3 separate regions of the Homo sapiens genome follow, and all the other regions are linked to region 3. The links are contacts of gene promoters, found by promoter capture Hi-C in human tissues and cell types (Jung and others, 2019). All regions are on one chromosome and are shown on one strand. Each heading gives the region's core, a stretch centred on a gene start or on the middle of the fragment in contact. The rest is flanking DNA. Distances are from core to core; before and after follow the strand shown. Region 1 has its middle 21 kb from the start of BPTF. Region 2 holds the start of BPTF (bromodomain PHD finger transcription factor). Region 3 holds the start of NOL11 (nucleolar protein 11).

Region 1 (3,423 bases), core at 146-2,645, 86 kb after region 3:
AATTCAAGTCCCGAAGGCCTCAGAATCAGGGAATCTGATGGTGTAGCTCTCAGTTCAAGGCCAAAGGCCTGAGAAGCCAGGAAGGGTGGAGGAGAGGGGAGAAGTCCTGGAGTTTGAAGGCTGGGGAGCCTGGAGTTGTTGTCCAAGGACAGGAGAGGAAGAATGTGTCCCAGCTCCAGCAGATAGCTTGACATAGTTACCTCTCTGTTTTTGTTCTCTCCGGGACCCTAGGAGATTGGATAAATAATGCTTTACCAGGTTTCTAGATATTCTTTAATCCATTCAAGTTGACACCTAAAGTTAACCACCACACAATCCATAGATCCCAGCCAAGGCAAAAGAAGCTTTACCCCAGGCTGGGTGCATTTGCTTACGCCTATAATCCCAGCACTTTGAGGGGTTGAGGCAGGAGGATCGCTTGAGCCCAGGAGTTCCAGACCAGCCAGGGCACATAGTGAGACCCCGTCTCTATCCAAAAAAAAAAAAAAAATGCTTAGCATGGTGGCAAGTGCCTGTAGTCCCAGCTACCTGGAGGCTGAAGTGGGAGGATCACTTGAGCCCAGGAGGTCAAGGCTACTGTGAGCTGAGATCATGCCACTGCACTCCAGCCTAGGCAACAGAGCAGAGTGAGACCCTGTTTCAAAAAAAAAAAAAAAAAAGGCCAGGCAAGGTAGCTCACCCTAGCACTTTGGAGGCCAAGGCAGGCAGATCACTTGAGGTCAGGAGTTTGAGACCAGCCTGGCCAACATGGTAAAACCCCACCTCTACTAAAAATACAAAAATAGCCCTGCATGGTGGTGGGCAACTGTAATCCCAGCTACTCGGGAGGCAGAGGTTGCAGTGAGCTGAGACCATGCCACTGCATTCCAGCCTGGGCAACAGATCAAGACTCTGTGTCTCAGAAAAAAAAAAGAAAAAAAAAAGAAAAAGAAAAAGAAGCTTTTCCCCAGCCTCTTTTTTTTTAGGAAAAAGAAAATCCTATATGCCTTCAACATCAGCTGGCAAATGTAAACGTATGTTTTATTTACTGTCTTCCCTTCCTCTAACAACAAAAAAAAGGTCATTCATATTATGATCAAGCTACTATAAATTCAGTTTTGAGCAATGCAAATAAATGTTTAATCAAATTCTAAATCTCCTAAGACATCATCAGCTTTATAGCTTCCTGGCTGAGAAAGTGGTATTTGTGAGGGTGAGAAGATAATGAAATGGCTGAAATGACTCAAGGTAGCTTTAGTCAATCAGGAAATCAACATATTTTTGCCCCTATAGTGCTCAGTGAGAATGACCCATTAGGAAGACTAAATGGGGCTTTGAAAAACCAGTGCTTGCTTTACTTCCTACTAGCCAGGCCTGCTCAGGGAGCACCCAGAGCCAAAAGAAGTAACTCAAGTATGATGGAAGCCCAGTTCAGAAAAAAAGATTATGTGTAACTTCCCCCTGGAAACAAAATTTGTTTTCCACTGCCAGGCGAGCCGGGCTGCAAATTCTTGAATGGGATGCCTGCGCTGGGGAGGATCAGAGGAGACTCTGTTTGAGTGACTGTCCTGACAAGCTGGGAAAAAAATGACATGGGGCATGGTTAAAGGCTGGCAGCTGCGTGGTGGCTCACACCTGTAATCCCAGCACTTTGGGAGGCGGAGGCGGGCGGATCACGAGGTCAGGAGATCAAGACCATCCTGGCTAACACGGTGAAACCCCGTCTCTACTAAAAATACAAAAATTAGCTGGGCGTGGTGGCAGCGGCCTGTAATCCCAGCTACTCGGGAGGCTGAGGCGGAGAATGGTGTGAACCCGGGAGGCGGAGCTTGCAGGGAGCCAAGATAACGCCACTGCACTCCAGCCTGGGAAACAGAGGGAGACTCCATCTCAAAAAAAAAAAAAAAAAAAAAAGGAAGTAAAGGCTGGCAGCTGCTTTTGGGGGGGTGTTCCCAGGAGCTTCAGAGGAGTCAAGAATGAAGGAATAAAAATCACCTTAAATATTTGAAGGCATAAAGACTTTACTTTCAAACAAAGCAACACTAGCTTGAAATGTATGATATGCCTCTTCCCAGTTTGTTTTATTCTCCCCATTTTGGTTATTATGATTTTTAAAATCCTTTCATTCTTTTCACTCAGAATGAGGCAAGTAATTGATTTCCTTATGAAGAGGCCAGGCAGTCCATTTTTCATGGCGTTCAGCGTGCACAGCAAATCTAAAACCATTGTCTGGCAAATGCAGCTCGCAGCCGCAATTATTTTTTTCACCAGGTAAGCCGGCTGGCGTATGTTTTTAAAATTTTATTGTTAAGTATTGTCTTTTACTGGTTAAATCAATGATAACATTCTTTACTTTGTGGTTATGTTACTCAAAATGAGGATTTTAAACAATGATAAAAATAAAGCTTGTTAGATCATTTTTAATGGTAATAAATTGGTTCCTGAAGATTTGATTAAAAAGAAAACTAGGTCAATCTAAGCAGAGTCCAAATTAGGTAGAAAGTCCATAGAGAACGGGAAAAAAGGAAGTTGTGGAACCACAGACACAGTAAAAGGAAAAAAATTGGGCAGGTGCGATGGCTCACACCTGTAATCCCAGCACTTTGGGAGGCTGAGGTGGATGGATCGCTTGAGCCCAGGAGTTCCAGACCAGTCTGGGCAACATGACAAAACCCCCATCTCTACAAAAACTATACAAACAAAACACATTAGCCAGGCGTGGTCGTGGGCACCTGCAGTCCCTAGCTACTTCATAGGCTGAGGTAGGAGTTATCACTTGAGCCTGGGAGGTGGAGGTTACAGTGAGCTGAGATTGAGCCATTGCACTCCAACCTGGGTGACACGGTGACAGAGTGAGACCCTGTCAAAAAAAAAAAAAAGAAAAGAAATTTATTTAATTAATTTAGTTTTGTGACAAAGTCCCTTTCTGTCTCCCAAGCTGGAGTGCAATGGCATAATCATAGCTCACTGCAGCCTCAAACTCTGGGCTCAAGGCATCCTCCTGCCTTAGCCTCCCAAAGTGTTGGAATTACAGGCACGAGCCACTGCAAGGCTAGATTTTTTTTTTTTTTTTTTGAAACAAAGTTTGGCTCTGTCACCCAGGCTGGAGTGCAGTGGTGCAATCTTGGTTCACTGCAATCTCTGCCTCCCGGGCTCAAGCAATCCTCCTGCCTCAGTTTCTTAAGTAGCTGGAACTACAGGCACGTGCCACCATGCCTGGCTAATTTTTGTATTTTTTGTAGAAAAGGGGTCTCAATATGTTGCCCAGGCTGGTCTTGAATTCCTGGGTTCAAGTATCCACCCACCTCGGCCTCCCAAAGTGCTGGGATTACAGGTGCAAGCCACCACGCCCAGCCAAAAAAATGTTAAGTGTTAAATCAAAAAGAAAAATCACCAAGCCATTTTGCATATTTTTCTGGAGAGATATAGATACAGACACAGATA
Region 2 (3,516 bases), core at 741-3,240, 110 kb after region 3:
CCTCCTCAAGTGCTGGGATTACAGGCCTGAGCCACCGTGCCTGACCACCCTCTTCAAACAAAATATGGGCACCTCCATTGGCCTAGGTCTTCATCTTGCCTACTTTATTGACTTACATTACTTACCTGGTCCCTGGAGACATATACACATTTGTCACCCTTAGAGCTCGACCAAATTGTATTGAATGCATTTCTCTGGCAATTAGTGCTTGTATTTTAATTTTCATTTCACATATGTGTTCCATTTTCCTAACAAGACTGAAATAAGCCATTTGGTATGCAGAATTCTGTTAGATATTTTTATTTTTATTTTTTTGAGACGGAGTCTTGCTTTGTTGCCAGGCTGGAGTGCAGTGGTGCGATCTCGGCTCACTGCAACCTCCACCTCCCAGGCTCAAGCGATTCTTCTGCCTCAGCCTCTGGAGTAGCTGGGACTACAGGCACGCACCACCACGCCTGGCTAACTTTTGTATTTTTAGTACAGAACTTTTGCATTTTTAGTAGAGATGGGGTTTCACCATATTGGCCAGGCTGGTCTCAAACTCCTGCCCTGGTGATCCGCCCTCCTCAGCCTCCCAAAGTGCTGGGATTACAGGCGTGAGCCACCGCGCCCAGCATCTTTTTTAAAAAAAATTGAGACAGGGTCTTGCTCTGTCACCCAAGCTGGAGTGCAGTGGTGCAATCACGGCTCACTGCAACATCCACCTCCCAGGCTCAAGCAATCCTCCCACCTCAGCCTCTCGCTAGCTGGGACCACAGGTGCACACCACCATGCCCGGCTAATTTTTCAAATTTTTTCTAAAGACGAGGTCCTGCTATGTTGCCCAGGCTGGTCTTGAACTCTTGACCTCAAGCTATCATCCGGCCTTGGCCTCTCAAAGGACTGGGATTGCAGGTGTGAGCTACCACGCCCGGCCAACTATTTTTCTTTAAATTACTTTTCGGTTGTCACTTCTCTCAATAAATATTCATATGTTTATAACACCTTTCTCTTATCTAAAGAGCTGACCTCAACCACTCAGGGTTGAGTCGCTGTGATAAGGTTTGAGGGTGCCTGAAATGTCATCATGATTCGTCCTTTGGGCTAAGCTGAAACCTAGTGACTTGTCAGGTCAATAAATTAAGGTTATTTCCCGATAATACAAACATTTAACACCGTGAAGTAGGTTTTAGGCAGGATTCCCTCTTTTCCACTGCAAAGGAGAGGTAAGTTCTTGCTGAGGTGATCGAAGTCCTAGCTGGGGCACTGGGAAGGTGGCGGGACATTGGAACGTGCAGTAGTTGCGTTCTGGAGTTTACTGAGGCTTTCCCAGTGCGGATTCCACGCTACAGGTCTTAGGGCGCCCCTCCCTCCGGGCGTGGCAGCCCGGGGCGTGGCTCCTGGCACAGATCCGGAGCAGTTGTCATTGGAGTCATTTTCTGGACTCCAGCTCCATGCTTCAGAGTTTCCTAAGTTCAGGGGGCTTGTCTCTCTGTCCCCTCGACTAATTTCCCTCTGTCGCTGGCGCTGCCCGGTGCCCTCGGTCGCTTGGGCCGCCCCTCTCCGCGACTTTTTTTTTTCTTTCTCTCGCTGGCTCTTTCAGCATCAGTTTCCATAGGGGGAGGGAAGGGAATGATATTTGGGGGCTCCCTTGCCTTCCTCTCCGAGCCGCGAAAGGGGAGACGCGGGGAGGAGGTCCGGCCGGCTTTGGGCTCCAGCCAGCGGTCCGCGGAGACTTTGGTCTCCGAAGGCCTTTGACGCCGGGCATTTCGCGAGCTGCGCGCCCCTCTCAGCCGCGCCACCTGCGCCCGGAGTTTTGCCGCGCCACCCGCGCCCGGAGTCCAGCCGCACCGCGCTGTGCCGAGCCCAGGCGCCCAGGGCTCCCCGCCCCCGACTCGACGCTCCCGCGCTCCCCCTAGCGGCCGCCGCGCCGCTTCGCTCCGTCCCAGGCTCGTCGGCGGCGCAGCTCACGTGACCGCGCTCTGGGCCTGCGGCCGCTGTCGGTTCCCCCAGTCACCGAGCGAGAGGGAAGAAACAAGATGGCGGCTGAAGGCGATCCGGAGTGGGGCCCCAGCAATTCGGATTGAGCCTTCTCCCTCCACCCGCTTCCGTCGGCCGGGCCCCTCCCGCCCGGCCCCGCGGGCCTCCCCACCCGGCCCCGGCGCTCCCCACCGCCCCCCCTGCGCCCGCCCCTCCCCCTTCGCTTTCCTTCTCCCCCCGCCTCGGCTCCGACATGAGGGGCCGGCGGGGCAGGCCGCCCAAGCAGCCCGCGGCTCCCGCTGCGGAGCGCTGCGCCCCGGCCCCGCCGCCACCGCCGCCGCCGCCCACGTCCGGACCCATCGGGGGGCTCCGCTCGCGGCACCGCGGCAGCAGCCGGGGCAGGTGGGCCGCCGCCCAGGCTGAGGTGGCGCCCAAGACGCGGCTGAGCTCGCCCAGGGGGGGCAGCAGTAGCCGGAGGAAGCCGCCGCCGCCGCCGCCGGCCCCCCCCAGCACCAGCGCCCCGGGCCGGGGGGGGCGAGGAGGCGGGGGCGGCAGGACGGGGGGCGGGGGCGGCGGCGGCCACCTGGCCCGGACCACCGCGGCCCGGAGGGCCGTCAACAAAGTGGTGTACGATGACCACGAGAGCGAGGAGGAGGAGGAAGAGGAGGACATGGTCTCCGAGGAGGAGGAGGAGGAGGACGGCGACGCCGAGGAGACCCAGGATTCTGAGGACGACGAGGAGGATGAGATGGAAGAGGACGACGATGACTCCGATTATCCGGAGGAGATGGAAGACGACGACGACGACGCCAGTTACTGCACGGAAAGCAGCTTCAGGAGCCATAGTACCTACAGCAGCACTCCAGGTACCCACCCAGCCCAGTTGCTGCAGACTCCTTCCCCACCTCCTCTGCCCTCCCCCCTTGCTCACTCGTGTGCTGTGCATCCTGCTCCGATCTCCCCCCAACCCCGCCTCCCCCCCAAACAGAGGGGAAATGCGACGGCACATCAAGTGGCAAAAAACTAGATTTACAAGAGGAAAGAGGCGCATTGTTCAAAATGGAGATTGCATTGTTGCAGTTTGCAGGCCACACTCGCTCGCTCTCTCTCCCCCCCCCAACCCCCTTTTTTTCCTCTTCAAAATTTGTGCCAGTGCAGTGTCTCCACCGGGCAGGATTGAAACTTTGGCAAACACATATCCATTGCATTCATTTTTCTCCCCTTGTTTTGGTGTGGTTTTCTGGAATGAAAGAAGCCTCTTGTTTTGCAAACCTCTTTGCATTTCTAATGTGGTTTCTTTCGGATTTTTATTATATATCTGTTACTTAAAAGGGAATTAAGGATTTGGACAGATTGTGGTACACAAACACGCACAAAAAAATGCGTTTTCACACCCCTAGCTGTGGTTTTAAAATTGTGTTAAGGAAACGGATCATTTGGGTTAGTAGGGGAACCTTATCTGGTCCTGTGTGTTTGTTTTTATTCTTCGAGTGCTAATGGGCCCGTGCAACAGTTGCTGTTAAATGGCTGATTAAAAAGCAACGCAGAAAGCCAAAC
Region 3 (3,321 bases), core at 822-3,321:
CCCTGTCTCTACTAAAAATACAAACAAGTCAGCCGGGCATGGTGGCGGGCGCCTGTAGTCCCAGCTCAGGAGGCTGAGGCAGGGGAATGGCGTGAACCCGGGGCGCAGAGCTTGCAGTGAGCCGAGATTGCGCCACTGCACTCCAGCCTGGGCTACAGTGCAAGACTCCGCCTCAAAAAAGAAAAAAGAAAGAAAGAAAGAAAAGCCTTGCTACTGATGGTGCCCTCATCACCTCTCACCTGGTAACTACAATAACTGCGATAGACTTCTAGGGAATCTCCCTGTTGGTGCCCCAGGCGCACTTGCTACTGAGAATGCTCTTAGTTAACTGCATGATCGCTCCCTCCCCTAGTTAACTGCATGATCGCTCCCTCCCCTCCTTCATGCCATCCTCAAAAGATACCCTTGGGCCAGGCACTGTGGCTCTGTAATCCCAGCACTCTAGGAGGCCAAGGGGGGAGGGTCATTTCAGCCCAGGAATTCAAGGTCAGCTTGGGCAATACGGTGAAACCCCATCTTTACAAAAAATACAAAAATTAGCCGGGCATGGTGGTGCATGTCTGTAGTCCCAGGTACTCGGGAGGCTGAGGTGGGAGGATAGCTTAAATCCGGGAAGCAGAGATTGCAGTGAGTTGAGACTGCGTCACTCCAGCCTGGGCGACAGAGCAAGACCCTGTCTCAAAAAAAAAAAAAAAAAAAAAAAGACATCCTCTCAAGGAGGCCTGTGGTCATCCTAGTGAAAATTTCACATACACAGACCACTCCTTCCTCCCCCACACACCCACGCTTTATCTCTCCCTTCTGAGTTTAATGTTTTTCTTCTTACCACCTATCACAAAGTAAGTTATGAAGCATAATAATAAACTATATCCTCTTGATCTCACAACCCAGCCTAAAAATTAAAAGATTATCAGAGTTCAAGATCACCTTGGGCAACAAAGCAAGACTCCATGTCTGCAAAAAATACAAAAATTAGCCGGGCGTGGTGATGGATGCCTGTAGTCCCAGTTATTCGGGAGGCTGAAGCAGGAGGATTGCTTTATTTAGCCCAAGAGTTAGAGGCTGCAGTGAGCCATGATAATGCCACTACTTTTGAACAACAAAAGACCTATTAGCATTATAAAAATAGACTGCATTTGATTCCTTCACAGTAGCTGGATATTCTCCTTTTGCCCATGTCGTCATGTTGGGGCAATGAGAAACAACACACATGGCGATCTGGTGGATGCTTAAATCTAAACTGAGGCACTTTGTCACACTGGGTACATTTGTTTAGTAATTGCCTATTAAATGGTTTCTCCCTAAGAACATCACAATTTATCTTTACTTATTTATTTAACATTATTGATTGAATCTGCCATGCTTATCTGAGAAACATACATTTCTCCCGGAAATAAAAACCTTGCCAAAAATCACACAGGGGACCTTCAACTTCACCTTCATCAAACTAGTCTGAATTTCCTGTAAGCTGAGGAGAGATTTTCCCCACTGGGGCTCAGAGAAGGGGAGTCAGAGAACTCAGAAGGCCTGAAAGACTGAAAAGACTGGAGATCTCTAGAGGGTTCCAAGAAACTTGGGGGGAATTAAGCATTTCACGTAGGAACAGCACGTTATTGGGAGTTTACCTACAGAGATAAATATTTTTTCTTTGGCAGATCGTTCCACAAGGCCATGGATGGAATTCCTAGGGAGTTCCCTTGCAATTAAAAAAAAAAAAATCTAGCTTATTTATATTCGACCACTCCCTAGACCCATCTACAGTCTCTCAAGTCCCCACCTAGAACAGCACGCAGCCGATTCAGGACCCAGTAAGCAGCACTTCCGCGCCTACCCTATCCCTTCCTGGAGCACATCCGGGACTCGGCGAGGCGTGGTCTCGGGAGGCGGAGTCTGACGCAAGCCGGCCCAGCCCACCTGGCTAAATTCACAGTCGCGCTCGCTCCTTCCGCCCGCCAGAGGTCGCAGGCTGCGAGAGCAGGTTCCTGGTTTGGCAAGCACTCGCCCCCTCAGGCCCGTTCATTCTCGCGAGAGAAAGCGCGAGGCCTGCCGGGAGTGAGCGCGGCCGTACTTAGGTTTGCTCAAAATGGCAGCGCTGGAGGAAGAATTCACGTTGTCTTCGGTAGTCCTGAGCGCCGGGCCTGAAGGACTCCTAGGCGTGGAGCAGAGCGACAAAACAGACCAGTTTCTAGTGACAGACAGCGGCAGGACAGTCATCCTCTATAAGGTGAAGGCAATAGGTTTGGGAGCGCCCCGACTGCCTTCTCGCCCCTTTCTGAGCGCGGAGCTCGAGCTCAAGTTTCTCACAGCTTCAGAAAGAGATCGTGGAGAAGGCTTAGCAGAGAGCCGGCTGGGCCTGTTGGGGACGCTGAGTGAGGTCTGGAATCTGGCTTGCTTGCCTTCCTGTAAAGGCATATTTCCGACTTGCAGGGGCAGAGCGTCTGAGTGCACGTGGGTTAGACTCGGAAAAGAAAGAAAACCTGTGCTTTTGCTTCGGAACTCGCGGAATTGGCCTTGCTAAGATTCCCTCCTAGGGTCTTTATTATCTTAGCCGCCCGCGGGAGGATGGAACGGAGATTGGTTGGGCGGGAGAGGATGACACTGACAGAGTGGGAATAGTGGTTTAGCCGTGTCTACACTTCACACCCCTCTCTTTGTAGGGGCGGGGACAATTTTAGAGAGTGAGGGACTTTCTTGATAGCTCGCTAAGAATCTTGCCTCCAAGTGAGTTGTCTGTTGGCATCTCTGATTCACGCTGGGAATCCTGGAGTTGAGTCCTGGGAAAATCTGCAAGCCCTGCCCCCATTTCAGCCTAAAGCCTGATAGAGAACACTTTCTAACCTTGCTTTTGGTGGTCGCATAGAAAGCAGTTACTTTTCTCTGGGCTGCTGAACATAGTTTTCCATGTTTTAAAGAAGTTAGGTATCTGCTTTGACGTTTTGAGAACAGGTTGCTAACAGCTCCCTGTGCCGTTTTGACTCTGCTAACTCTATTGGGTTTCACTTGGGATGTCAAGTAGATTTGCAGTTTTGCAGCTCCTGCATAGGAATACAATGGCAGATTGGAATTGGATAGACATGATCCCAGATGTCCCTACTTAATTTCCCATGCCGCTGTTCAGAGGCATAACTTCCCATGCAGAGGCATAATATAATCAATTTTTAAATGTACTATTGTTTTTTTAACAAAGGGTTGCTTATTTACTTATTTAGGAACTTAGTTATATTTTCATTTTAACTACCCTTTTAGAGGTTTGGCCGGACGCGGTGGTTCACGCCTGTAATCCCAGAACTTCGGGAGGCCCAGGTGGGTGGATCACTTGAG

What was found. The method cuts DNA at HindIII sites, captures the fragments that hold promoters and counts their contacts. A contact is called where the count stands out against the background at its distance.
Region 1: a fragment that was not itself captured here is called in contact with the fragment with the promoter of NOL11 in region 3 in 2 of the 25 tissues and cell types used here (dorsolateral prefrontal cortex and hippocampus).
Region 2: a contact is called between the fragment with the promoter of BPTF here and the fragment with the promoter of NOL11 in region 3, in 1 of the 25 tissues and cell types used here (stomach).

The regions. Positions count from the first base shown.
Region 1 is chr17:67,802,368-67,805,790 of GRCh38, forward strand. No RefSeq gene overlaps it. Among named protein-coding and RNA genes, the nearest start is that of BPTF, 21 kb to the right of the region's middle. The HindIII fragment of the contact is 6,501 bases long and covers 1-3,423 here.
Region 2 is chr17:67,823,513-67,827,028 of GRCh38, forward strand. It overlaps BPTF (bromodomain PHD finger transcription factor), which reads left to right and starts at 1,991. Exons shown (of 28, transcript NM_182641.4): 1 at 1,991-2,825. The coding sequence starts at 2,213. RefSeq lists enhancers at 1,239-1,936, 1,937-2,632, 2,595-2,864 and silencers at 1,845-1,914, 2,115-2,164, 2,345-2,544. The HindIII fragment of the contact is 39,315 bases long and covers 1-3,516 here.
Region 3 is chr17:67,715,865-67,719,185 of GRCh38, forward strand. NOL11 (nucleolar protein 11) reads left to right here and starts at 2,072. Exons shown (of 18, transcript NM_015462.5): 1 at 2,072-2,224. The coding sequence starts at 2,084. LOC101928045 (a long non-coding RNA gene) reads right to left here and starts at 1,814. Exons shown (of 4, transcript NR_188294.1): 1 at 1,778-1,814. RefSeq lists enhancers at 1,983-2,062, 2,133-2,322, 3,245-3,321 and a silencer at 2,593-2,682. The HindIII fragment of the contact is 26,229 bases long and covers 1-3,321 here.